Linked DNA regions of Homo sapiens: all the other regions are linked to region 2. The links are contacts of gene promoters, found by promoter capture Hi-C in blood cells and fetal thymus (Javierre and others, 2016). All regions are on one chromosome and are shown on one strand. The core of a region is centred on a gene start or on the middle of the fragment in contact, and the rest is flanking DNA. Distances in the headings are between cores, read along the strand shown. Region 1 overlaps LOC105372717 (a long non-coding RNA gene). Region 2 holds the start of RPS21 (ribosomal protein S21). Region 3 overlaps OGFR (opioid growth factor receptor). Region 4 overlaps COL9A3 (collagen type IX alpha 3 chain). Region 5 overlaps TCFL5 (transcription factor like 5). Region 6 overlaps NTSR1 (neurotensin receptor 1). Region 7 overlaps TAF4 (TATA-box binding protein associated factor 4).

The links. The method cuts DNA at HindIII sites, captures the fragments that hold promoters and counts their contacts. A CHiCAGO score of 5 or more calls a contact.
Region 1: a contact is called between a fragment that was not itself captured here and the fragment with the promoter of RPS21 in region 2, in 1 of 17 cell types (neutrophils). The highest score is 8.6, in neutrophils.
Region 3: a contact is called between a fragment that was not itself captured here and the fragment with the promoter of RPS21 in region 2, in 12 of 17 cell types (total B cells, megakaryocytes, naive B cells and 9 more). The highest score is 13.2, in total B cells.
Region 4: a contact is called between a fragment that was not itself captured here and the fragment with the promoter of RPS21 in region 2, in 2 of 17 cell types (erythroblasts and M0 macrophages). The highest score is 5.8, in erythroblasts.
Region 5: a fragment that was not itself captured here is called in contact with the fragment with the promoter of RPS21 in region 2 in 5 of 17 cell types (neutrophils, total CD4 T cells, M0 macrophages and 2 more); the score reaches 9.7 in neutrophils.
Region 6: a fragment that was not itself captured here is called in contact with the fragment with the promoter of RPS21 in region 2 in 1 of 17 cell types (M0 macrophages); the score reaches 5.5 in M0 macrophages.
Region 7: a contact is called between a fragment that was not itself captured here and the fragment with the promoter of RPS21 in region 2, in 2 of 17 cell types (neutrophils and megakaryocytes). The highest score is 10.1, in neutrophils.

Annotation. Positions count from the first base shown.
Region 1 is chr20:62,869,499-62,873,104 of GRCh38, forward strand. The region is part of intron 1 of LOC105372717 (a long non-coding RNA gene); the gene reads left to right. It also overlaps the pseudogene ARF4P2. Among named protein-coding and RNA genes, the nearest start is that of TCFL5, 9.5 kb to the left of the region's middle. The HindIII fragment of the contact is 6,367 bases long and covers 1-3,606 here.
Region 2 is chr20:62,384,349-62,388,352 of GRCh38, forward strand. RPS21 (ribosomal protein S21) reads left to right here and starts at 2,755. Exons shown (of 6, transcript NM_001024.4): 1 at 2,755-2,788; 2 at 2,973-3,040; 3 at 3,263-3,326; 4 at 3,495-3,566; 5 at 3,961-4,004. The coding sequence starts at 2,991. RPS21-DT (RPS21 divergent transcript) reads right to left here and starts at 2,641. Exons shown (of 1, transcript NR_186459.1): 1 at 1,955-2,641. RefSeq lists enhancers at 1,893-1,942, 2,221-2,912, 2,913-3,604 and silencers at 2,293-2,412, 2,843-3,032. The HindIII fragment of the contact is 6,470 bases long and covers 1-4,004 here.
Region 3 is chr20:62,811,383-62,815,131 of GRCh38, forward strand. OGFR (opioid growth factor receptor) reads left to right here. Exons shown (of 7, transcript NM_007346.4): 6 at 80-228; 7 at 848-2,618. The coding sequence ends at 2,267. Among named protein-coding and RNA genes, the nearest start is that of COL9A3, 3.8 kb to the right of the region's middle. The HindIII fragment of the contact is 7,148 bases long and covers 1-3,749 here.
Region 4 is chr20:62,833,135-62,837,281 of GRCh38, forward strand. It overlaps COL9A3 (collagen type IX alpha 3 chain), which reads left to right. Exons shown (of 32, transcript NM_001853.4): 27 at 2,787-2,819; 28 at 3,053-3,199; 29 at 3,344-3,398; 30 at 3,949-4,131. Among named protein-coding and RNA genes, the nearest start is that of COL9A3, 18 kb to the left of the region's middle. RefSeq lists enhancers at 1-175, 4-53, 176-1,131, 2,655-3,854. The HindIII fragment of the contact is 341 bases long and covers 2,595-2,935 here.
Region 5 is chr20:62,852,237-62,855,902 of GRCh38, forward strand. It overlaps TCFL5 (transcription factor like 5), which reads right to left. Exons shown (of 6, transcript NM_006602.4): 5 at 1,780-1,921. Among named protein-coding and RNA genes, the nearest start is that of TCFL5, 7.8 kb to the right of the region's middle. The HindIII fragment of the contact is 5,585 bases long and covers 1-3,666 here.
Region 6 is chr20:62,754,611-62,758,280 of GRCh38, forward strand. It overlaps NTSR1 (neurotensin receptor 1), which reads left to right. Exons shown (of 4, transcript NM_002531.3): 2 at 75-276; 3 at 3,656-3,670. Among named protein-coding and RNA genes, the nearest start is that of LINC00659, 20 kb to the right of the region's middle. The HindIII fragment of the contact is 5,247 bases long and covers 1-3,670 here.
Region 7 is chr20:62,036,042-62,039,847 of GRCh38, forward strand. All of the region lies in intron 1 of TAF4 (TATA-box binding protein associated factor 4), which reads right to left. It also overlaps the pseudogene RPL17P48. Among named protein-coding and RNA genes, the nearest start is that of MIR3195, 27 kb to the right of the region's middle. The HindIII fragment of the contact is 5,228 bases long and covers 1-3,806 here.

The DNA of each region.
Region 1 (3,606 bases), core at 983-3,482, 480 kb after region 2:
GGCCAGGGTGGTCTTGAACTCCTGACCTTGTGATCCACCTGCCTCGGCCTCCCAAAGTGCTAGGATTACAGGCATGAGCCACCCCACCCAGCCCAAAATTATTTTTAAATAATGTTAGCCCTGTAATCCCAGCGCTTTGGGAGGCTGAGATGGACGGATCATTGGATGCCAGGAGTTCGAGACCAGCCTGGCCAACGTGGCGAAATCCTGTCTCTACAAAAAAATACAAAAATTAGCTGGGCGTGGTGGCGGGCACCTGTAATCCCAGCTACTCAGGAGGCTGAGGCAGGAGAATTGCTTGAATCCGGGAGGCAGAGGTTGCAGTGAGCCGAGATCGTGCCACTGCACTTCAGTCTCAGTGACAAAGTGAGACACTGTCTCAAAAAAAAAAAAAAAAAAAAAACAAAACTTAGAAATAAATTTGATGAAAGATGTAAAAGACTGTACACTGAAAACTACAAAATACTGTTGAAATAAATTAAAAAGATGGACAAATATAGAGATATACTATGTTCATGGATTGGAAGGTTCGATAGTGTTAAGATGTCTGTTATTCCCAAAACTGATGTATGCAGTTCCAATAAAAACCCAGCAGTGTCTTAGTCCATTTGTGCTGTCATAACAAGACACCTTAGACTGGGTCACTTATAAACAACAAAAATGTATTGCTCCTAGTTCTGGAAGCTGGAAAGTCCCAGATCAAGGCACCAGCATATGTGATGGCTGATGAGGGCCTGTTCCGCTCAGATGCTGCCTTCCTGCCACATCCTCATGTGGCAGAGAGAGAAAATCAGCTCCCCCAGGCCTCTTGTAAAAGGGCACTAATCCCATTCATGATGGCTCTCCCGTCATGACCTAGTCACCTCCTAAAGGCCCCTCTTCTTATTTTTTATTTATTTATTTTTTTGAGATGGAGTCTCGATTTATTGCCCAGGCTGGGGTGCAATGGCATGATCTCGGTTCACTGCAACGTCTGCCTCCCGGGTTCAAGCAATTCTTCTGCCTCAGCCTCCTGAGTAGCTGGGATTACAGGCACGTGCCACCACGCCTGGCTAATAGTTTTGTATTTTCAGTAGAGACAGGGTTTCACCATGTTGGTCAGGCTGGTCTTGAACTCCTGACCTCAGGTGACCCGCCCGCCTCGGCCTCCCAAAGTGCTGGGATTACAGGCGTGAGCCACCGCACCCGGCCATTGTTTTAAAGACCCCTCTTCTTAATGCCACCACAGTGCAGATTAGGTTTCAGTATGAATCTTGGAGGGATACAAACTCAGACCGCAGCAAGCAGGGTTTTTTTTCTTTCTTTCTCTCTCAAATTCTTGGAAGGTTGAGCAGGGCAGGGTCACCAGGCCTGCCGGCAACTGCTCCCCTTCCTCTCATCCTCCTGTAGCTTCTTGGACTCCTGGGCCAATTGATTTTTCTGTTCCGTGATGTGGAGTGATCAAAGCTGGTTCTGGGTTTTCTGGAGCTGGATCTTTGATTGCCTTTGATTTAAAAGCATTGGTAACCGTTTCTCACGGGAAAGAGGCGCTGATAATTCATGCAAATGAGCATCAATGGGCAAAATTCAACCAAGTGCCTCTGGAACCAAGGCTGCCATTGAACATTCTAGTAAAAATGGGGTGGAGGCTTTTGCCCAAGTGCTCTGGATAATCTGGGAAAAGAAAATGGTGAGTCAGTGCTTTATTTTATTTATTTATTTATTTATTTATTTGTTTGTTTTTGAGGCGGAGTCTTGCTCTGTCACCCAGGCTGGAGTGCAGTGGTGCGATCTCGGCTCACTGCCACCTCTGCCTCCTGGGTTCAAACGATTCTCCTACCTCAGCCACCCAAGCAGCTGGGATTACAGGCACATGCCACGATGCCTGGCTATTTTTTGTATTTTTCTGGTAGAGACAGGGTTTCACCATGTTGGCCAGGCTGGTCTCGAGCTCCTGACCTCAAGTGATCTGCCTGCCTCGGCCTCCCAAAGTGCTGGGATTACAGGTGTGAATCACCGTGCCCAGCCGAATTTTTTTTTTCTTTTTTTTTCTTTTTAGATGGAGTCTCTGTCACCCAGGCTGGAGTACGGTGGCACGATGTTGGTTCACTGCAACGTCCGCCTCCTGGGTTCAAGCGATTCTTCTGCCTCAGCCTCCCGAGTAGCTGGGATTACAGGCACGTGCCACCATGCCCAGCTAATTTTTTTAGTAGAGACGGGGTTTGGGGTTTCACCATGTGAGCCAGGATGGTCTCGATCTCCTGACCTCATGATCCCCCCGCCTCGGCCTCCCAAAATGCTGGGATTACAGGCATGAGCCACCGTGCACGGCCTTTTTTTTTTTTTTTTTTTAAATAGAGGCAAGGTTCACCATGTTGCCCAGCCTTGTCTCCAACAAGCTCAAGGGATTCACCTCCTCACAGACAGTGCTCCCACAGGCGTGAGCCACCACGCCCCACCTTATTTATTTTTATGTATCTTAACTTCCAAGGTGGATTTATTTAAAGGTTTTACAATAACTATGTCCAGGCTTTAGGCTCATGGGAAGTAAATGAGGACACCTTTTTCCCAAGAAGAATTTCTTTAAAACCAAGCACATTGCTAAATAACAACATTATATTTGGCAAACAATAATTGGCAACAAAATAAGTTTATTATTCTGCCCAAGCCAGTCCCAGATGCTGTTTCTTAACCAAGATACAAACAAATTTTGCTGTAGCAAGTCTAGACCAATTTTATCAAACATGTCTTTGGTTAGATGTCTAGTTTCATTTAACGTTTTGAAAACTCATTTGACAGCCAGTCAAGTCCCTCATCTACACCAGCTCCGTGTTGCACAAGTGGCTTGAACATACCATGTCCTGTTAGGAAGAGACTGAAGAGCTGGCTGGCTCATCTGTCGTCACACTGATGGCCCGAGCGCTGGGCAAACCCTGTTTGTTTGCAGAGAGCAGTGGCGCTGCGTCTCCACACTCACCGGCCAGAAGCCTTTTCTGCAGCGCGTCCGCCACTTCCCGAATTCTTTCATGATCGTTGCTATCTACCAGCAAAAGAAAACCCTGGGTATTCTGGAAGTAATGCTTCCAGAGAAGCCTAATTACATCTTGACCATGAACATCCCACACCATGAAACAAGTGTTCTCTTTTTGAGTCAGAGTCTCGCTCTGTCATCCAGGCTGGAGTGCAATGGCGCAATCTCAGCTCACTACAACTTCCACCTCCCGGGTTCAAGCAATTCTCCTGCCTCGGCCTCCCGAGTAGCTGGGATTACAGGAGCCCACCACTATGCCTGGCTAATTTTTGTATATTTAGTAGAGACAGGGTTCCACCATATTGGCCAGGCTGGTCTTGAACTCCTGACCTTGTGATCTGCCTGCCTCGGCCTCCCAAAGTGCTGGGATTATAGGCATGAGCTACCGTGCCTGGCCCAAAACAAGTGTTCTTATATTCTACTCTTTCCATGTTAAAACCAATGGCAGGAACTGTGGTGAGTACCTCCCCTAACTTCAGTTTATACACAATGTATAGGCAGCATCCAATCGAACCGTCCAAATGTGCATCTGCTTCTTGCTGAAGAGGCGGGAGAAGAGAGAGGAGATGGCGGGGACCATGGGTTCGTGGCACTTG
Region 2 (4,004 bases), core at 1,505-4,004:
CTGCCAGTCTGTGGCTTTCTTTCTTTCCTTCCTTTCTCTCTCTTTTTTTTTCTGGGTCTCCTGTCACCCAGGCTGGAGTTCTGTGGCATGATCATGGCTCATTGTAGCCTCCACCTCCTGGCTCAACTGATCCTCCCACCTCGGCCTCCTGAGCATCTGAGACTACAGACACACACCACTACATCCGGCCAATTTTTAAATTTTTTTGTAGAGGGGTTTCACCATGTTGCCCAGGCTGGCTGGCCTCAGACTCCTGAGGTCAAGCAATTGCCTGCCTCAGCCTCCCACAGTGCTAGGGTTACAGGCATGAGCCATCACTCCTGGCCTCTAATCTGCTTTTTTTGATGTGTCTTTGTCTGATTTGGGTATCAGGATAATACCGGCCTCATAAAATGATTGGAAGCATTCCCTCCTCCTCTATTTTTTGGAATAGTTTCAGTAGGATTGGTATTAGTTCTTTAAAAAATGTTTGGTAGGCCAGGTGTAGTGGCTCACGCCTGTAATCCCAGCACTTTGGGAGGCCAAGGCGGGCAGATCACGAGGTCAGGAGTTAAAGACCAGCCTGGCCAACATGGTGAAACCCCATCTCTACTAAAAATACAAAAATTAGCCAGGCGTGGTAGCAGACCCCTGTAATCCCAGCTACTCTGGAGGCTGAGGCAGGAGAATCGCTTGAACCTGGGAGGTGGAGGTTGCAGTGAGCCAAGACCGCACCACTGCACTCCAGCCTGGGAGACAGAGCAAGACTCCGTCTCAAACAAACAAACAAACAAACAAACAAACAAACAAAAACTAAGAATAGAGCTGCCATAAATAAAGCAATCCCACTGCTGGGCATATACCCAAAAGAAAGGAAATCAGTATATGAAAGAGATACCTGGCCGGGTGTGGTGGCTCATGCCTGTAGTCCCAGCTACTGAGGAGGCTGAGGCAGGAGAATCACTTGAACTCTGGGGGCAGAAGTTGCAGTGAGCCGAGATCGCACCACTGCACTCCAGCCTGGGTGACAGAGCGAGACTTTGTCTCAAAAAAAAAAGAAAGAAAGGAAGAGATACATGTGCTACGATGTTTATCACAGCACTATTATTTGTGGGAGCTAAAAATTAAAACAATTGAATTTGTGGAGACAGACAGTAGAAAGATGGTTACCAGAGGCTGGGAAGGGTAGAACAGTGGGAGGAGGGGGGCAAATGGGGATGGTTAATGGGTATAAAAAGACAGAAAGAATAAGACCTAGTGTTTGATAGCACAACAGGGTGTCTACAGTCAATAATGATTTAATTGCACATTTTAAAATGACTAAAAGAGTATAGTATTGGATTATTTGTAACGCAAAGGATAAATGCTTGAGGTGATGGATGCTCCATATACCCCATGTGATTACTACGCACTGCATGCCGGTATGAAAATATCTCATGTGCCCCATAAATGTACACACCCACTATGTACCCAAAAAATTAAACATAAAAAAACTTTTTTTTTTTGAGACGCAGTCTTGCTCTGTCGCCCAGGCTGGAGTGCAGTGGCGGGATCTCAGCTCACTACAAGCTCCGCCTCCCGGGTTCACGCCATTCTCCTGCCTCAGCCTTCCGAGTAGCTGGGACTACAGGCGCCTGCCACCACGCCCAGCTAATTTTTTGTATTTTTAGTAGAGATGGGGTTTCACCATGTTGGCCAGACGGGTCTCGAACTCCTGACCTCAGGTGATCCACCCACCTCCGCCCAAAGCGCTGGGATTACAGGCCTGAGCCACCGCACCTGGCCACTGAGTCTTAAGTTTTCTGAGGCTAGTTCTACATCCTAGGATCATGTCCCCCGCCCAGAGAAGACCCCAACATAGGCCGCGCTGCTCCCTCCGTCTACCGGTTTGGAGCTTCTCCTGGCAACAGGGTTCAGGCTACTAACAAGGCCTTCCTCAAGACCCCACCCATAACCAACGACCATACTTCGTGGGTCCATCTTTGTAACATCTTTACTTCCTTGGAGCAAATTCCCAGGAATGGGTTTTCGGGGTCCAAGGGTATGCACCTCTAGCACTACGACAAACGCGGCCAACACGCTTCAGGGAAACGGTGCCCCAGTTTGCATTCTGCTTCCCCTGCCCTGCCCTGGGGGTCTGACTGGTGAAACATGGGATGGCAGAGTGGTCGGGTGTTTCAGATTCCACGGTGGGCCGGGGTCTTTTCCTACCCTCGGGAGCCGTCTGAATTTCTCCTCTGCCGAGTTCCTGCGGGTGTCCTTCGCCCACCGGCCCGGGGGAGTGAGTAGCAGGCACCAGGTGAGCAGGCCTCCGCTCGCAGCGGCTACGTGCACGGGCAGGAGCACCGCCCCACGCCCCAGGTGGCCGCAGGGTGAGGGGACCGGAGGGCGGGAGGCGCACAATGGGGGGCACGCCCGTATCTCTAGCCCGGCCGGCAGCGGGCAGCGAGGCTCAGTCCTCGCCCCTTCTCCCAGCTGCTATTCGGGGCTCCCGAGGCGCTCAGAGGGGTCGACTGCGTCCGTGGGGCACAACCCAGGGGCCAGGCTAAGACGCCACACACGGCAACGACCCTCAACGACAACGACCCCCACGACGCCCCGCGCCCCAGGGCCAGCAGGCTGGGGTCCGAGAACCTCCTTGCCGGAAGCGGAAGTGCGTCACGGCGACGGCCGGCAAGCACGCACCGCGCAGACTCGCTGTGGTGGCGTGACCCGGAAGCGCTCGCCGAGGCCCCTCCTTGCCCGCCGATATCTCTGCCGGGTGACTAGCTGCTTCCTTTCTCTCTCGCGCGCGGTGTGGTGGCAGCAGGTGTGGCGCGCGGCGCGGGCTTCGGGCTCAGGGCTGGGGCTGGGGCGGGAGTGGGGGCTTGGACGCGGGGGACGGGGTGCGGGGTGCTGGGTGCGGCTGGGGCCGTGACCCTAGGGGCCGGTTTGCGCCGGGAGCCGGGGCACGGTTCCGGCCGTACTCACGGCGCCGCGCGGTGACTCCCCAGGCGCAGCCCAGCCTCGAAATGCAGAACGACGCCGGCGAGTTCGTGGACCTGTACGTGCCGCGGAAATGGTAAGCGCCCCCCACATGCCTCTCTTCCGTCCTTACCTAACCACCACGTCCCCTCGCCTGCCCTTGTTCCCCCACACCCCTCCCGTCCTTACCTCGTCACGTCCCTAACTTGTCCTGCCCCCGACGTTACTCTTTTCCATTCATATACCCCCAACCTCCCTCGTCCCCTCTTTCATTCTTACCGCCCAAGTCCCCTCTGCTCACTGCGCCCTTTCTCCACAGCTCCGCTAGCAATCGCATCATCGGTGCCAAGGACCACGCATCCATCCAGATGAACGTGGCCGAGGTGAGCTGGGAGCCCGGGAGGCGGGAAGGTTGTGATATATGTGCGGGAAAGGCAGGCTGTCCCATTGTGGAGGAGCCCCTGGGGTGAAGGTACAGGCAGAGGCTGGCTTTGAGGATTGGTGTTTCCCAAACCTGGGGGAGTGGTTTGTGACCCTTCTTCTCTTTCTAGGTTGACAAGGTCACAGGCAGGTTTAATGGCCAGTTTAAAACTTATGCTATCTGCGGGGCCATTCGTAGGATGGTGAGTGTTTCCCTGGGCTTTGCTCATCACTTCGGGACATCGTGGACTTTACCGTGCGCATTGGAGTGTGTGATGGTGCCTGAGTAGATCTGCTGGCAGAGTAGTTTGAGCCAGCTGGACTGGGCTGGCCGCCTGCCGCTTCTTGAGGGTGGAAGAGGGGTGCTCTGAGAAGACACTCAGGCAGCAGACTCTGCCTCTCACTAGGAGGTGCCCCCCCGACCCCGCTCCACCATAGTCAGGCTGCAGGCTGCCCCGGGAGAGGTGGCTCCCCTTCTGCGCCTGTCTCCATTCGCTCAGCGGGGGAGAGACGTGGGCTGGTGGCACAGCTGACCTTCTGCCATCTCAGGCAGCCGGAGTGGAAATATTCTTAGTGTGCTTTTTTTTTTTTCTTAAGGGTGAGTCAGATGATTCCATTCTCCGATTGGCCAAGGCCGATGG
Region 3 (3,749 bases), core at 1-2,500, 430 kb after region 2:
GGGACCCACGGCCACCCCCACACTCAGGAACCGGGGCTTCAGGGATGGTGCCTGAGCTCTCCAAGGGGGTCTTTTCCAGGTGTTTAAAAGCTCCCAGGAGATCCAGGAGCGGCTTGTCCGGGCCTACGAGCTCATGCTGGGCTTCTACGGGATCCGGCTGGAGGACCGAGGCACGGGCACGGTGGGCCGAGCACAGAACTACCAGAAGCGCTTCCAGAACCTGAACTGGTGAGGCCCGGCTGCTCCCGCCCACCCCCACCCCGGCGCAGAACAGGGCCACGTCAGGTTTCGGGCAGGTCACAGAGCGCTGCTGCAGACGGAGAACTCCAGGGCTGTTTGGGCAATGGACCAAGGCCCTGAGTCCCCTCCTTGCTGCCTGTAGAGCCGGGCGGTCCCTCCCCGATAGGGTTGGTGAGAAGGTAAAGAATGCTCTTCCTGCACCCAGGAGGTGGCAGTCCACATAGAGAAGCAAGCAGGGGTGATGGAGAACCTGCAGGCGGTACAGCCAGTTCTCACAGGGTGTTCGAGGCGCCTGTACCCTGCAGGGGCCCCTTGTGGCTCTCATCCAGCCAGCTCCTCCCCACCAGGGGGACTCGGGGTACAGCCACCCTCTAGGTGATGCGTCAGCATCCCCCTAACCCCCGTGTGTCTAGGGCCCACAGGCCATTTTCACAGGGATGGCATGAGTCCTCCCCTGGGCCCAGAGAGGTAAATGGAGAGAGAGACTGAATCGTGGGCCAGGGTGGGGAGACCTCGTGGAGCCGGGTGGGAGGGCAGGCCAGGGCGGGGTGCGGCCCAGCAGGAGGGGCCCCAGCCATTGACCTCTCCTGACCCGGATCTCTCGCAGGCGCAGCCACAACAACCTCCGCATCACACGCATCCTCAAGTCGCTGGGTGAGCTGGGCCTCGAGCACTTCCAGGCGCCGCTGGTCCGCTTCTTCCTGGAGGAGACGCTGGTGCGGCGGGAGCTGCCGGGGGTGCGGCAGAGTGCCCTGGACTACTTCATGTTCGCCGTGCGCTGCCGACACCAGCGCCGCCAGCTGGTGCACTTCGCCTGGGAGCACTTCCGGCCCCGCTGCAAGTTCGTCTGGGGGCCCCAAGACAAGCTGCGGAGGTTCAAGCCCAGCTCTCTGCCCCATCCGCTCGAGGGCTCCAGGAAGGTGGAGGAGGAAGGAAGCCCCGGGGACCCCGACCACGAGGCCAGCACCCAGGGTCGGACCTGTGGGCCAGAGCATAGCAAGGGTGGGGGCAGGGTGGACGAGGGGCCCCAGCCACGGAGCGTGGAGCCCCAGGATGCGGGACCCCTGGAGAGGAGCCAGGGGGATGAGGCAGGGGGCCACGGGGAAGATAGGCCGGAGCCCTTAAGCCCCAAAGAGAGCAAGAAGAGGAAGCTGGAGCTGAGCCGGCGGGAGCAGCCGCCCACAGAGCCAGGCCCTCAGAGTGCCTCAGAGGTGGAGAAGATCGCTCTGAATTTGGAGGGGTGTGCCCTCAGCCAGGGCAGCCTCAGGACGGGGACCCAGGAAGTGGGCGGTCAGGACCCTGGGGAGGCAGTGCAGCCCTGCCGCCAACCCCTGGGAGCCAGGGTGGCCGACAAGGTGAGGAAGCGGAGGAAGGTGGATGAGGGTGCTGGGGACAGTGCTGCGGTGGCCAGTGGTGGTGCCCAGACCTTGGCCCTTGCCGGGTCCCCTGCCCCATCGGGGCACCCCAAGGCTGGACACAGTGAGAACGGGGTTGAGGAGGACACAGAAGGTCGAACGGGGCCCAAAGAAGGTACCCCTGGGAGCCCATCGGAGACCCCAGGCCCCAGCCCAGCAGGACCTGCAGGGGACGAGCCAGCCGAGAGCCCATCGGAGACCCCAGGCCCCCGCCCAGCAGGACCTGCAGGGGACGAGCCAGCCGAGAGCCCATCGGAGACCCCAGGCCCCCGCCCGGCAGGACCTGCAGGGGACGAGCCAGCCGAGAGCCCATCGGAGACCCCAGGCCCCAGCCCGGCAGGACCTACAAGGGATGAGCCAGCCGAGAGCCCATCGGAGACCCCAGGCCCCCGCCCGGCAGGACCTGCAGGGGACGAGCCAGCCGAGAGCCCATCGGAGACCCCAGGCCCCCGCCCGGCAGGACCTGCAGGGGACGAGCCAGCCGAGAGCCCATCGGAGACCCCAGGCCCCAGCCCGGCAGGACCTACAAGGGATGAGCCAGCCAAGGCGGGGGAGGCAGCAGAGTTGCAGGACGCAGAGGTGGAGTCTTCTGCCAAGTCTGGGAAGCCTTAAGGAAAGGAGTGCCCGTCGGCGTCTTGGTCCTCCTGTCCCTGCTGCAGGGGCTGGGGCCTCCGGAGCTGCTGCGGGCTCCCCTCAGGCTCTGCTTCGTGACCCGTGACCCATGACCCACAGTGCTGGCCTCCTGTGGGGCCACTATAGCAGCCACCAGAAGCCGCGAGGCCCTCAGGGAAGCCCAAGGCCTGCAGAAGCCTCCTGGCCTGGCTGTGTCTTCCCCACCCAGCTCTCCCCTGCGCCCCTGTCTTTGTAAATTGACCCTTCTGGAGTGGGGGGCGGCGGGCAGGGCTGCTTTTCTTAGTCTGATACCAAGCAAGGCCTTTTCTGAATAAATTCATTTGACTTTGAGTCTTTGGTATGGACCGGGGTCCTGTTGGGTGGCTGGTAGGGCTGGTGTCACAGCTGATGTCCCTCCAGGCTCCAGTGGCCTGGCCCGGCGACCGCCTCACATTGCTCCACCAGGTGCCTGTGGGGGCAGAGTGGTGGCCCAGCCCTCCCCACACACCCACTTGGCCACACAGTCCCCAGGCATGAACAGGTGGGCAGGCTGCAGCCTCCCAGAGCCTCTGAAGGTGGAACCGAGGTCCCTCAGCAGGCTTTTGCCACCTGTTCAAGATGAGTCTGGGGCTTCCCTTGGGGTTGGCCGGGGCAGTGCTTGTGCATGGTGGGGTCTGGACCAGGCCTTTCTGCCTGCTGTGATCTGGGATGCGCTGCTGTGCCTCGGGCAGGCTTGGCAGTACTCTCTGGCGGGCCCCTTGGCTCCCTCAGGTCTGGTGGAGCCAGGTGTGCCCCCAGGGCAGTCCCTCCCTGCAGTCTGCCCTTGTCACCCTGGGCCAGGACCCCCCGCTTCCCGGTTCCCCTACATTTCTACATCAGCAGGGTAAGGGGCTTTTTGTGGGGCCTCAGAGGAGGGGCCGGACACTTGTCTTTGCTCAGTGAAGGACAGGGCAGACCTGGGGCACCCCTGGGTGGGAGGGTTAAAGCTGTAGACCCTGGTACCACTTCAGGTAAAATGCCCAGCTCCCATCTGGTGGCACAGGATACACGAGCCGGAAGTCACTGGGAGGAGACACCCGAGGTTCAATAATCCCCCAGAGCTGCGTGGGGAAGCTGTGGGACCCCTGGTGCCTCAAGTGTGGCTCAGGGGATTCCTGCCATGGAGGGAAACTGAGGCAGTGAGCTGGACATAGGGCTAGAAGTGCAGTCACTGGGGCAGCGCCCGGCAGATCCAGCGTCCCCAGTCCAGGCCGTTGTGGGGCTGGAGTCGGTGAAAATCAGCGCCTGAAGTGAGGAGCCTGTTGGAGCAGCCCTGGGGGCCGATGCCTGGCGGTGGGCACCTGGGGACAGCAGGCAGTGCTGGCCAGCCAACCCGGGCTTCAGGGAGAGTGATGACCCACAACAGGCGGGCAGCAGGAGGCTCTGCCCCACTCAAAAGTGAGCCGGGGGAGGCTGAGCTCTGACAGTGCCCACCCTCTGCCT
Region 4 (4,147 bases), core at 1,515-4,014, 450 kb after region 2:
CCTGGGGACAGGGTCAAAATCTGCAGCTCCCGGTGGAAGATCGGCAGCTCTGCTGGGCAGCGTGGGGATGGAGCAGGGTCGGGCAGAGGCCTTGGCCACTGGCCATCCCTTAGCAAGTGGGCAGGGCCTGGCAGGGAAACTCAGCGGCTCTGGAGTCTGACCTGACCCGGTGCTCAGACGTGTGGGCTCCCGCACTCTGCCCCGTGGAGTGGCACCTGCATGAAGCAGTCACAGCTGCATTTTTGTTTTTTTGTTTTTGGTTTTTTGGGGTTTCTTGTTTTTTGTTTTGAGACGAGTCTCACTCTGTCACCCAGGCTGGAGTGCAGTGGCGCGATCTCGGCTCGCTGCAAGCTCCGCCTCCCGGGTTCACGCCATTCTCCTGCCTCAGCCTCCCAAGTACCTGGGACTACAGGCGCCCGCCACCATGCCCAGCTAATTTTTTGTATTTTTAGTAGAGACGGGGTTTCACCGTGTTAGCCAGGATGGTCTCCATCTCCTGACCTCGTGATCATCCCGCCTTGGTCTCTCAAAGTGCTGGGATTACAGGCATGAGCCACCGCGCCCGGCCGGGGGTTTTTTTTGAGACGAAGTTTTGCTCTGTTGCCCAGGCTGGAGCACAGTGGCGCGATCTCGGTTCACTGCAGCCTCTGCCTCCTGGGTTCAAGCGATTTTCCTGCCTCAGCCTCCTGAGTAGCCAGGATTATAGGCCCTCCCACAGTCGACTAATTTTTTGTGTTTTGGGGGGTTTTGTTTGTTTTTTTTTGAGATGGAGTCTCGCTCTTTCGCCCAGGCTGGAGTGCAGTGACGCCATCTCGGCTCACTGCAACCTTCCCAGTTCAAGCGATTCTCCTGCCTCAGCTTCCTGAATAGCTGGGATTACAGGCGCCTGCCACCACGCCCAGCTAATGTTTGTATTTTTAGTAGAGACAAGGTTTCACCATGCTGGCCAGGCTGGTCTCGAATTCCCGACCTCAGGCAATCTGCCCGCCTCGGCCTCCCAAAGTGCTGGGATTACAGGTACGAGCCACCGCCCCTGGCCTAATTGTTGTATTTTTAGTAGAGACGGGGTTTCACCATGTCGGCCAGGCTGGTCTCAAACTCCTGACCTCAGGTGATCCACCTGCCTCAGCCTCCCAAAGTGCTGGGATTACAGGCGTGAGCCGCCGTGTCAGGCCCACAGCTGGTTTTTAACTGAAGAAAACTCCACTTCCACAGGCCTAAAACTCAGGTGAAGCATAAAATTACGTTCTTGTTTGAGTCCCTTGATAGGCACATTTCTCCTTCTGGAGGTAACAAATGGAGCAGTCGTGAGTCCGAGGGAAGGACGGCCTTTCTGGCTTTCCCGAGGGGGGTTTTCATCTATGATTAAGTCTTTCCTTTGCGTCTGGGTGAAATAGAAACAGCCTAGCCCCAGGGACCCCAGTCTCTGGCAGACCCCCACAGCCCAGTGTAAACTTTTTATGCCTGGGGACAAAAGACCTCAGTTGTATGTGTTTCATTTAGTGAATTCTTTTTTTATTTTTTTTTGAGACGGAGTCTTGCTCTGTCCCCAGGCTGGAGTGCGGTGGTGTGATCTCAGCTCACTGCAATCTCTGCCTCCTGCGTTCAAGCGATTCTCCTGCCTCAGCCTCCCGAGTAGCTGGGACTACAGGTGCCCACCATCACACCCGGCTAATTTTTGTATTTAGTAGAGATGGGGTTTCACCATGTTGGCCGGGCTGGTCTCAAACTCCTGACCTTGTGATCCGCTCGCCTTGGCCTCCCAAAGTGCTGGGATTACAGGCGTGAGCCACCTCGCCCAGCCCATTTAGTGAATTCTTAGACAACACTGACAAATGGACCCTGGAAATCCCAGAAGCTGCCCTACGTGGCCACTGTTGCTGGTGGGGTGAGGGGCAGAGCCCCTTGCAGGCGGAAAACCTAAGGCTTTGCTCTCAGCTACTCGCACGGTCGGGCTGTGTGAGGTGACCCCCTACCCTCCTGGCCTCCGCGGAGCATGCTGTCTGGGCCCGGTCGGTCCCTCTGCTGTGCGGTTAGACTGTGTCAGTCTGTATTCTGCAGCTGTAACAGAACACCGCAGCTTGGGTAGTTTACAAGGGAAAGAGATCCATGTGGCTCCTAGTTCTGGAGGCTGGGAAGCCCAAGACCGAGGGGTGCATCCATCGAGGGCCTCCCCACTGCGTCATTCCATGGTGGAAGGCAGAAGGGCCAAGAGGAGGTGCCAGAGAGAGAAAGGGGCCCAACCCATCCTTTTCATGAGGAACCCACTGCGGAGACAACGGTGTTAGTTTACTCCGGAGAGCCGAGCTCTCAAACCTAATCACCTCTTAATAGCATTGCAGTGCAGTGGCCGTTCAATTGCAGCATGTGTTTTGGAGGAGACATTAACCCGGCTGACTGTGTGTTGACGCACCTGGGGCCAGTCATTCCTGAGGACCCAGCTGGAGGGGGTTCCAGGGTTTTAGGGCAGAGAGGTTCAGCCCAGCATTAGGCGTGTTAGTAAGAAAAAGGAATGGAAGCAAAGTAAGCGTGTGTAAGAGACAGCACCGTGCAGCTAACAAAGTCACTCTTCCCAGGAAAGTAAGTTTTTAAAAAGCTTCAATCAATCAGTGCAATCACAGAAATATAAAAAATGTATATAGAAGAACGGAAGGAACCACTGTCAATATTTGGATGTAGTCTAATAGCAGGTGTGTGGATGATTTGATTTATTTTATCCTCAACTGGCTACTTCCCACCCACCCAACAATACACTTAGTTCAAACACACAACTTTTCTCTTCACAGGGTCCCAGCGGCCTGGTCGGACCCAAAGGAGAGGTGAGTGCCCGGCGACTGTTCCGATGACACCATCCATGGGCGCCTGCTGGCTTCCTGCCCACCTCTGGGCAACCAGGCAGCCCTGCAGGGCACTGCCCAGATCCGAGATGTAAAAAAGCTTGCTCTGGTCAAGGCTGGGCAAGACGGCTCCGTGCCGGCTGGGAAAGAGCACGTCGGGGTGGCTCTGGGCTCCTGGGCTCGCCCCTGACCCACCTTCCTCTGTTCCTCTGCAGTCTGGCAGTCGAGGGGAGCTGGGCCCCAAAGGCACCCAGGGTCCCAACGGCACCAGCGGTGTTCAGGGTGTCCCCGGGCCCCCCGGTCCTCTGGGCCTGCAGGGCGTCCCGGGTGTTCCTGGCATCACGGGGAAGCCGGGAGTTCCGGTACGTCGCTTTTCCGGCTTTTCCAGCTTTCACAGGGTTGAGATCGTGTTTTTTCCGGAAGGAAGTTACTTTGCGGGGTGACGGTGGGAATGCCTCACCGAGGCTGCCGCCCCCATGCTGACGAATGTGTGGGGTGAATTCCAGGGGAAGGAGGCCAGCGAGCAGCGCATCAGGGAGCTGTGTGGGGGGATGATCAGCGGTAAGTCAGCCACGTGCACCGGCTGCAGCGGGGCCCATCCCCGCCTGGGGGTCCCGTGCCTGGGGCTACACAGAAAGCCTTCGTGCCACTGCTTTCCAGCCAAAGTGAGCCCCTAGCACTCACCCCGCCTGTTAGCCCTTGGGGGTCCACGTCCGCCTTGGCGTCTGCCTGTCCTCTGCGCTAGAGGATGGCCCACGCTCCCGCCCCGGATTCAACCAGATTCCCAGCACGCAGCAGACGCCCTAAAGCCTGCTGAATGCAATGGGTACAAGAACAGCGGAGTGTGCCCCTGTGGCTGGCAGGGCAGGTCCCTAAACACCCCCAAGGGCACTTCCTTCACCTTCCCACTCAGGCTTCTCAGGCTCCAAGGGGTTGGGGGTCCTTTCTAGCTCCAGCATTCATCACCCCAAAGCAGTTAAACCATTTTCCATCAATCAGAAGGAAAACTTGCTTCTGGAAGACAGCACCGTGTAGATATTTTATGCTTTACGTAACAATACTTCTGATGATCCTCTCTCGAGTAAACGCCTGCACCCTTGTTTTCCCAAAGAACAAATTGCACAGTTAGCCGCGCACCTAAGGAAGCCTTTGGCACCCGGGTCCATTGGTCGGCCCGGTCCAGCTGGCCCCCCTGGGCCCCCAGGACCCCCAGGCTCCATTGGTCACCCTGGCGCTCGAGGACCCCCTGGATACCGCGGTCCCACTGGGGAGCTGGGAGACCCCGGGCCCAGAGGTGAGTGTTTGACCCC
Region 5 (3,666 bases), core at 812-3,311, 470 kb after region 2:
ATCTATTTCACTAAGGTCTGCTCACTCCTAGAGGGCCAAAGAGCCACTGACCCTGGCCACTGCAACGCTGAGGCCGGGACCTGGAACTCGGGTCCCCCAAAGGCAGGGCCCAGGACCCTGGAACTCGGGTCCCCTGAAGGCAGGGCCCAGAACCCTGGAACTGGGGTCCCCCCAAGGCAGGGCCCAGAACCAGCCCTGTGACTGACACCTTCTTCCTTTTAGGCCACTGAGGGGCTGACTGAACTCCTGCATTCAAATCACACGTCTAGTTCCAGCCAACCACGATGGCTTGCTGCAGGCCACTGCCACGACCACACAGACAGGATCACGGCAGGCTGGCTGTCCTGAGGGACTGCATATGCTGGCGCTAACACGCCGGCTCCTCCCTAGTCACCCAGTCCACAGAAGTATATTCACCCGGTCCACAGAAGTATATTCACCCGGTCCACAGAAGTACAGTCACCCGGTCCACAGAAGTATATTCACCTGGTTGACAGAAGCATAGTCACCTGGTCCGCAGAAGTATATTCACCCATTCCACAGAAGCACGGTCACCCGGTCCGCAGAAGTATATTCACCGAGTCCACAAAGGTATAGTCAACCAGTCCACAAAAGTATGTTCACCCAGTCCATGGAAGTATAGTCACCCAGTCTGCAGAAGTACATTCACCCAGTCAGCAGAAGTATATTCACCCAGTCCGCAGAAGTATAGTCACCTAGTCCGCAGAAGCATGGTCACCCGGTCGGCTGAAGTACATTCACCCAGTCCGCAGAAGTATAGTCACCCGGTCCACAGAAGCATAGTCACCCGGTCCACAGAAGTACAGTCACCCGGTCCGCAGAAGCACAGTCACCGGTCCACAGAAGCATAGTCACCCGGTCCACAGAAGTACAGTCACCCGGTCCACAGTATAGTCACCCAGTCCACAAAAGTATAGTCACCCAGTCCACAGAAGTATAGTCACCCAGTCCACAGAAGTATATGCACCCAGTCCACAGAAGTATATGCACCCAGTCCACAGAAGTATATTTCTTATTAACCTGCTGGGCATATTTGAAGTCCAGATCAGACTATTTGACACTTATCTGCATTTTTGTTTCTCTTTCTTTTTTGGGGTGGGTGGGGGTGGGGCAGGGTCTTGCCCTGTTGCCCAGGCTGGAGTGCAGTGGTATGATCTCAGCTCACTGCAGCCTCGACCTCCCTGGCTCAATTGATCCTCCCTCCCAGCCCCCGCCCCGAGCAGCTGGGACTACAGGCATACGCCACCACACCAGGTTAATTTTTGTATTTTTTAGTAGAGATGGGGTCTTGCCATGTTGCCCAGGCTGGTCTCAAACTCCTGGGCTCAAGAGATCCTCCCACTTCAGCCTCCCAAAGTGCTGGGATTACAGACGTGAACCACTGTGGCTGGCCGGTTTTTGTTTTTCTATTCTTGCTTTTATCCCTTTCACAAGTTTTTCTGAGGGCAAATATCATGTCCTACACACCCGTCAGCCCCAGTGCAATATACCGTACACAGCAGGTGCCCAATTTGCTATCTGACAATTGCCTCTTCACAGTTATTTACACACTGAGTGTAACACATGTAGGCTGTGACTATTACTTTAATAAATGACAAGTTATATCATTAAAGAGCAGAGCTTTGCTCATACTGGACTTAGTATTTGATGTTAGATTCCAGGAAACAAAGGATAGTTTGAGTTATCCTTAGGAAAAAGGAGGGACATTGTTAAGTAAAATTTGTAAAATTCTGAAAATCTACCTGGCCTACCACTAACCTTTTTAAGAGAATCTCCATGTCTTTCCTGGATGTATTTCAGGAATGCTGTGGTCCACTGCAGAGTTGTGGCCTTGTCAGTCTCGGCATTGCAGAACGGCACTAAGAGATTCAACTCATCACAGCAAATGCGGATTCTGCGCCTATAGTCAAAACCCAAAGTCATCACCGAGAGAGACCGGAGCAAAACAAACATGTAAAAGGAAGCGTCTCCTGTAGTACTTGAGGGAACCAGAGCTCGTGCATCCTGGCCACTGAGTGCCACGGAAGCGCCTGTCACCACAGGAAGCCCCACGGCTTTGCCACGGCCTTGTCTACAGAGGCAGCCACTGCCTTCCAGAGGCCAGAGCATCCTCGGGTGCCCTTGGCGGCCCCATGACCCACAAGCTCCCTGGAGCTTTCCCTCTTTACTTCTCACGGGCCAGGTTCAAGTCTCTAGATTAGGGATGGCTCCAAAGCCCCTGAAACTGGAAGCAACATTTTGTGTCTGACACCTTCTTCCATTTGGACCACTGAGGGGTCCAAATTGGGCAGATAACTCTGTCATTCAAGACTGATATTACTTGCCCTTCACGGGCTAAATACCCTACCAGGAACTCGTGCACAGCTTTCTCCAAGGGGCCCTGATTCAGAAAGGATCACGGCCCAACACTCTGTTAATATTCTGAAACTTGGTCTTTGTAGAGATAAACAATTGGAGTCTTGTTATTAGACTATTTTTTAAACTTTTACATATTACATTCAGTAACATGCAAAGTCCTAAACAAGCAGATACTGAGCAACTTATTCAATATGGCCCTTGTTACTCACCTTCACACCCGTCTATTTAGAACTTTAATTAGAGACTTTGCCAGTAAAACAGCAGCTGGCATTTACTAGGTGCTTTTGGACTTCTAGACATTGAGCGAAACACTCTTTACACATCAGCTCACTGAACTCTAACCACAAGTCTACGCAGTAGAGCTAGAAGTCCAACTTTCAAACTGTCAACGTACGGTGTAAGGCTTTCCACATAGCAGGTACTCAATAAATGTCTATTAAATAAATGTCGGAGCAAAATGCCCTTCATAATTCACAGTAGGGTGAGGAAGGCCCTCAGTTAGTCCATGTGTATAAAAGTATCATAAAAAGATATTAGCTAGCTTTTTAATTTTCTTTCTTTGGGGGATGGGTCTCACTTTGTGGCCCAGGCTGGAGTGCAGTGGCATGATCACAGCTGACTACAGCGCTGACCTCCCAGGCTCAAGTGATCCTCCCACACCTCAGCCTCCCAAGTAGCTGGGGCGACAGGTGTGCAACACCACCACTACTAGTATTGTTGGTTTTTCTTTAGAGACGGGGACTTGCTATGTTGCCCAGGCTGGTTTCAAACTCCTGGGCTCAAGCAATCCTCCCACCTCGGCCCACAGTCATGAGCCACTGCACCCTGCCCCAGCAAGTTTGAATAGATCCCTTTAAAAGAAATTGCCATGCCAGGCGCAGTGGCTCAAGCCTGTAATCCCAGTACTTTGGGAGGCCGAGGCACGTGGATCACCTGAGGTGAGGAGTTCGAGACCAGCCTGACCAACATGGAGAAACCCCTCCTGTACTAAAAATACAAAATTAGCTGGGCGTGGTGACGCATGCCTGTAATCCCAGCTACTCAGGAGGCTGAGGCAGGAGAATCGCTTGAACCTGGGAGGCGAAGGTTGCGTTGAACCGAGATCGTGCCATTGCACTCCAGCCTGGGCAACAAGAGTAAATCTCCATCTCACCAAATAAAAAAATAAATAAATAAATAAATTGCCTTAGCTCAACATTCAACCTTGGAGCTTCAAACCTGAGTATTTGTCTCACTCACTGTTATTTATTTCCTGAACTTAAAGCAGAAACTGGTACACAGTACCAG
Region 6 (3,670 bases), core at 304-2,803, 370 kb after region 2:
ACGGCAGGCATCCCAGCTGAGGGTGCATGAGTCCCGCTGCTGGCTCTGACAGCCTCGCCCTTCCTCTCCTGCAGGTCAACACCTTCATGTCCTTCATATTCCCCATGGTGGTCATCTCGGTCCTGAACACCATCATCGCCAACAAGCTGACCGTCATGGTACGCCAGGCGGCCGAGCAGGGCCAAGTGTGCACGGTCGGGGGCGAGCACAGCACATTCAGCATGGCCATCGAGCCTGGCAGGGTCCAGGCCCTGCGGCACGGCGTGCGCGTCCTACGTACGTAACCTCTGGGCCCTCCAGGGGCGGGAGGCAGGCCAGGGCTAGCAAAGGCAGCGAGCGCTGAACCACCCCAAGCCTGGGCAAGGTTTAAAGACATAGGGATGGAGCTGTCAGGCCAAGACCCAAGGGTGCCAGCTCCCCCGAGGGGTGAGTGCCATTCTGCACTCCATCCCTCCCTCCATCCTTCCATCTATCCTTCCCTCCCTCCATCCATCCATCCTTCCCTCCCTCCCTCCATCCATCCTTCCTTCCCTCCATCCATCCATCCCTTCCTCCTTCTATCCCTCCACCCCTCCCTCCTCCCTTCATCCCTCCCTCCATCCATCCATCCTTCTCTCCCTCCTTCCCTCCATTCACTCCTCTACCTCTCCCTCCATCCATCCCTCTCTCCCTCCTTCCCTCCATTCATTCCTCTACCTCTCCCTCCCTTCCTTCCTCCCTCCCTCCATCCATCCATCCCTCTCTCCCTTCCTCCCTTCATCCCTCCATCCACCCTCCCTCCCTCCATCCATCATTCCATCCATCATCCCTCCATCCATCCCTCCATCCATCCATCCATCCTCCCTCCATCCCTCCCTCCCTCCATCCATCCTCCCTCCCTCCATCCCTCCCTCCATCCATCCTCCCTCCGTCCATCACTCCCTCCCTCCATGCATTCTCCCTCCCTCCGTCCATCCCTCCCTCCATCCATCCTCCCTCCCTCCATCATCCCTCCCTCCCTCCATCCCTCATTCCATCCCTCCCTCCCTCCCTCCATCCCTGCCTTCATCCATCCTCCCTCCCTCCATCCATCCTCCCTCCCTCCATCATCCCTCTCTCCCTCCATCCCTCATTCCATCCCTCCCTCCCTCCCTCCCTCCAGCCATCCTCCCTCCCTCCAGCCATCATCTCTCCCTCCCTCCCTCCATCCCTCCCTTCAGCCATCCTCCCTCCCTCCATCCATCCCTCCCTCCCTCCATCCATCCTCCCTCCCTCCACCCATCATCCCTCCCTCCCTCCATCCCTCATTCCATCCATCCATCCCTCCTTCCATCCCTCCTTCCCTCCCTTGTTCCATTCCTCCCTCCCTCCATCTATCCATCTCTCTGTCCATCTGTCCACTTGCTCACGTGCTCACTTATTCATTTGCTCAGCAGTTGGCTGAGTGCCCACCCTGGGTCTCGCCTATTCTTGCTCACAGGCATGGAGGCAGCAGAGGCAGGGGCATCCCTGCACTCTGGGGGAACAGGGGCTCCACCAAGGACACAAACACAGGCACCAGGCACCTTCAGCCAGTGATGAGCATGAAGAAAAAAATACCACCACCACCACCCCTGACTACATCTGGCAGCTGGGAGGGGCTCTCAGAGCAGGTGGCATCCTGCAAGTCCCAAGGACCAGGAGCCCATCTGGGCAACAGAGCTGCAGGCGAGGGGATGGCTGGAGCAAAGGCCCTGTGGTGGGAGGTGCTTGGCAAGAAGGCGGGGCAGGGGCAGGGCAGACGCTGCCAACAACACAGGGCTTGGAGAGTGTGATGGGAACTGGAGAGAATGAAGCCCTTTCATGCCTGAGACCCAGGTCTTCAGTTTGGTTTGCCTGAAGCATTTGGCTTGAGCTCCTCCCTGGTGCTGGCCCATTTTCAGGGCTTGTTTGAGGGTGTGGCCAGTCACAGGAGAGGCCCATAGCCAAGCACATTACCCTAAGAGAGCCTGGCTCTGGGCTCAGCCTTCCCTGCTCATGGGAACCAGCCAGGGCTTTGGACACGGAGCTCTCAGGGCTGGCGAAGCCCACAGCAGGGCAACGCCCATCCTATCGGAACCCTGAGGACCAGCCCCAGCTCAGGACGGCTGGCTTGCCAACATCCAAGGTGTGTCCTGGTCCCAGTGTGTGCCTGTTGTTTTAATAGTAGCCATCCTAATAGATTTGAGGTGGCATCTCGTTGTGGTTTTGATTTGCATTTCTCCAGTGATTTAAGATTAATGATTAATAACATCTTTCATGTGCTTGTTGACCATTTGTATCTTCTTTGGAGAAATGTCTGAGTCCTTTGCCCATTTGTGAATTGGATTGTTTGTTTTCATGTTGAGTTTTAGGAGTTATACTCTCAAGGTTAACTCATTATCAGATGTGATTTGCAAATATTTTCTCCTTTTTTGTGAGCTGACTTCCACTCTCCTGATGGCATCCTTTGATACACAGAAATTCAGTGTTTATGTTGTTCAATTTATCTACTTTTTTCTTTTGTGGCCTGTGCTTTTGGTGTCATACCCAAGAAATCATTGCCAAAATCAATGTTGTAAAGTAATTATGTTTTCTCCTAGGAGTTTTATGGTTTTAGTTCTTATGTTCAGGTCTTTAATCCACTTCAAGTCCATTTTTGTATATGGTGTGAGGGGAGGATCCACCTTCATACAAGTGGATGTCCCGTTTTCCTAACACCCTTTGTTGAATAGACTGTCCTTTCCCCACTGAATGGTCTTGGTGAAGATCACTTGACCATAAAGGTAAGGGTTCGTTTCTGAGATTTCTAGTCTATTCCCTTGGTCTACGTGTCTATCTTTATGCCAGCACCACACTGTAACTTTGTAGTAAGTTTTGAAATCAAGAAGTGTAAGACCTCCAACTTTATTTTCTTACAAGATTGTTTTGGCTGTCCGGGATCCTTTGAGATTTCATATGAATTTTAGCACAGATTTTTCTATTTCTGCCAAAAGCATTCTTGAAATTTGATACGGATTGCATTGAATCTGTAGAGTGCTTTGGGTAGTACTGACACCTTAACAATATTAAATCTTCCAATCCATGAACATGGGATGTCTCCCTGCATCTCCCTCAGACCACGTGTCTCCTTCTCTGAGGCCATATCTCTGTGTCTCTAAGCCCATGTCTCTGAGCCAGTGTCTACCTCCCTCAGCCCATGTCTCTCCCTCTCTGAGCCTGTGTCCTGTCTCTGAGCCTGTGTCCTGTCTCTGAGCTTATGCTCCCTCCCCAAGCCCACGTCTCTCCCTCTCTGAGCTTGTGTCTGGTCTCTGAGCCCATGTCTCCCCCACTGAGCCCACGCCTCTGTGCCTCAGGTGCAGTGGGTCTCTGAGCCCACGCCTCTGTGCCTCAGGTGCAGTGGGTCTCTGAGCCCACGTCTCTGTGCCTCAGGTGCAGTGGGTCTCTGAGCCCATGTCCTGTCTCTGAGCCCACGTCTCTGTGCCTCAGGTGCAGTGGGTCTCTGAGCCCATGTCTCTGTGCCTCAGGTGCAGTGGGTCTCTGAGCCCACGTCTCTGTGCCTCAGGTGCAGTGGGTCTCTGAGCCCACATCTGTGTGCCTCAGGTGCAGTGGGTCTCTGAGCCCACGCCTCTGTGCCTCAGGTGCAGTGGGTCTCTGAGCCCACGTCTCTGTGCCTCAGGTGCAGTGGTCATCG
Region 7 (3,806 bases), core at 999-3,498, 350 kb before region 2:
AAAAAGAGTTTTGCTCTTGTTGCCCTGCCTCGAGTGCAGTGGCGCAATCTCAGCTCACTGCAACCTCCCGCTCACGGGTTCAAGCGATTCTCCTGCCTCAGCCTCCTGAGTAGCTGGGATTACAGGTACCCGCCATCACAACCGGCTAATTTTTTGTATTTTTAGTAGAGATGGAGTTTCACCATGTTGGCCAGGCTGGTCTCGAACTCCTGACCTCAGGTGATCCACCCGCCTCGGCCTCCCGAAGTGCTGGGATGACAGGCGTGAGCCACCGCGCCTGGCTCATTAATTAATTTTTAAGTGAAAATTAAGACAACACTATCAGAGCATTTTACACCCCCAGATTCGAGGAATTGAAAAGTCTGACAACACCCAGTGCTATCAAGGATATAAAATAACAGAAACTGCTGGGAGGCAAGTGAACTGTTGCAACTAACATTACTCATGCAGTACTGCAAGACAAACTGCAAGGAAATGACAGGCCAGTATCCCTCCTGAACCTACACACCAAACTGTAGCAAACTGCATGCAACTGTATATAAAAAGGATAATACATGTGACCAACAGGGGTTATGCTAGGAACTCGCCAGGGTTTAACACTCAAAATTAAATCAGTGTAATTCACCATGTTAACAGACTAAAAAAGAAAAACCATACAAGCATCCCAATACAGGAAGAAAAGCATTTTAACAAAAATAAACATCCACTCACGACAAAAATTCTCACCAAACTAGGAAAAGAAGGTGCATAGACTGAATGCCATCACAATTCATATGCTGAAACCCAATCCCCAAGGTGATGGTAGCAGAAGCGGGGGGACTTTGGGGGCCCAGCCCTCATTAACCGGATTAGCGCCCTTATGAAAGAGCCTGTCCCACAGCTGCCTTGCCCCTTCCTTCCACACTCTGAGGACACACAAGAAGCTGCATGGGAGCAGGCAGCAGGCCCTCACCAGCATGGCAATCTTGCACTTCCCAGGACTGTGAGAAATGAATTTCCGGTGTCTAGAAGCCTCCCAGTCTATGGTATTTTGTTACAGCAGCCAGAATGGCCTATGACAGAAGGGGATTCCTCAACCTAACACAGGGCCTCTATGAAAAACCTGCAGCTGACATCATGTGCGTCATGAGAGAAGACAGACTGCCTCCCCCAAGATCAGAAACAAGGCAAAATGTCCCTTCTCAACGCTTCTGTTTGTCATATTACACTGGAGGTTGTGGCCAGTGCAATGAGACAAGAACAAGAAATAAAAGGTGCACAGACCAGAAAAAAAGACATGAACCACTCTTTACTGCAGATCACGCCTATCTTTGAAGAAAATCCTAAGAAATCCACAGGATATAAAGTCAATTTTTTTTATTTTAATTGCATTTATTGTATGCTGAGTTTATTCCCATGCCACAAGTTTTTGTTTCTTCAGTTTCTTCTGGTACAGTTTTCCTCTGTGCAACTTCCTCACCTGGCTTGGGAACAAGTGTCTTTACCGTGAGGATCGTCTCAATGTGACGGGGCGCCCTGTATGGATGAACCCGACCACCAGCCCTGGAAGTCCCACAGCGCATCCTGGGTGCTCAAACACCAGAGAGCCTACATCTACACCCTCACATTCAGTGTGACTCTCCACATTTTTAATTGTGTGCAGCAAAAATTCAGCGCTCTTTTCGGGTCACCAACCCTGTGTCCAGCCCCACTGTTTGGCCTAGGTACACCTGCCAGCTCCACCCCTGCCAAGTCGGAATGGCATACACTGTTTCTATAAAGGGACGTCTTTCAGACACTTGGTGACTTCTCACGTATGCATACCCTTGATGGCCTGGGCAGTTTCACGAGCGTTCTTAAAGTGATCAAGAAGACCTGAACCTCTGGATTTGCACGATTTTGTGGGGATTTCTGGGTCAAGTGACTAATGAACCATTTTCACAGATCATCTCAGGCCGCTTGGGGAAGAGCTATAAAGTCACTATTTTTAAAAGCAATTTTTTTGTTGTTTTTTTTTTGGTTTTTTGAGACGGAGTCTCACTCTGTCGCCCAGGCTGGAGTGCAGTGGCGCGATCTCGGCTCACAGCAAGCTCCGCCTCCCAGGTTCATGCCATTCTCCTGCCTCAGCCTCCAGGTGGCTGGGACTACAGGAGCCCACCACTACGCCCGGCTAATTTTTTGTATTTTTACTAGAGACAGGGTTTCACAGTGTTAGCCAGGATGGTGTCGATCTCCTGACCTCGTGATCCACCAGCTTCGGCCTCCCAAAGTGCTGGGACTACAGGCGTGTGCCACCATGCCCAGCTAATTTTTTGTATTTTTAGTAGAGACAGGGTTTCACAGTGTTAGCCAGGATGGTCTCAATCTCCTGACCTCATGATCCGCCCGCCTCAGCCTCCCAAAGTGCTAGGATTACAGGTATGAGCCACTGAGCCACCGAGCCACTGACCCACCGCGCCCGGCCAAAAGCAATTGTTTTTCTAAATACTGGCAACAATTGGAAACAAAATTTTTTAAAGGACCACGTACATGGCATAAAATATGAATACTTAAGAATAAATTTAACAAAGTATGTTCAGGATACAAACACTGAGAACTTGAAACAACCCTGAGAAAAATCCTGAAAGGCCTAAATCAATGAAGAGGTACAACACGTTCGTGAATCAGAACACTCGATATTGCTAAGATATCAATGATCATAAAACCGATCTATAGACTCAATACAATCCCAAGCAAGATATCAAGGTATTGGCCAGGCCCAGTGGCTCACACCTGTAATCCCAGCACTTTGAGAGGCTGAGGCAGGCGGATCACCTGAGGTCAGGAATTCAAGACCAGCCTGGCCAACACGGCAAAACCCTATCTCTACTAAAAATACAAAAATTAGCCGGGTGTGGTGGCACGTGCCTGTAATCCCAGCTACTCGGGAGGCTGAGGCAGGAGACTCACTTGAACCCGGGAGTCGGAGCTTGCAGTGAGCCAAGATCGTGCCACTGCACTCCAGGAAAAGATGTGAAAGAGTGAAAAATTCCGTCTCAAAACAAACAAAAAGCTATCAAGGTATCAAGAGGCTTTTTTTGTAGAAGTTGACGAACTGATTCTGAAACACATGAATGCAAACGACCAGAACAGCCCTCAACGTTTTCGAAAAAGCAGCACTGGAGGACTCCTGCCACCCATCAACACTCCCTCTAAATGGGCTGGAAAGTGCTGAGCTGCAGAAGGGAAGACAAGGACATGAGTGGACAGAACACATCCCAGAAGTGACGTCCTCACACGTGGCCGACTGAGTTTCAATAAAGGCAGCAGCATCGTTCAATAGAGAAAGGAAGGTCTCCTCAACACATAAGGCTGGCATGATTGGTAACCACAGAAAAAATGAGTCTCAACCCCCTACCTTACAACTCTCCCAAAATTAACTTGAATTGGGTTGAGTAAGAGCTAAAGCCATAAGCATTCTAGAAAACTCCTGTACCTTGGGTTAGGCAAAAATTTATTTAAGAAGGCACAAGATGAATTCTTAAAATGACTCACTGGATTTATTTAAGAAGGCACAGGACGAATTCTTAAAATGATACACTGGATTTATTTAAGAAGGCACAAAATGAATTCTTAAAATGATACATTGGGCTTCCTTAAAATTGAAAACTTGCACTTTAAAACGCATGCAGCTAAAAGAAAAGGCAAACACAGACCAAGAAAATAGTTACAGAACAATTCTATCTGATAAATTACTTACATCTAGAAAATACATTTTAAACTCTTACTAAATCAATAATGACAAAACTAACAACCCAATTTAAAACACACAGACAAAAGATTTGAAA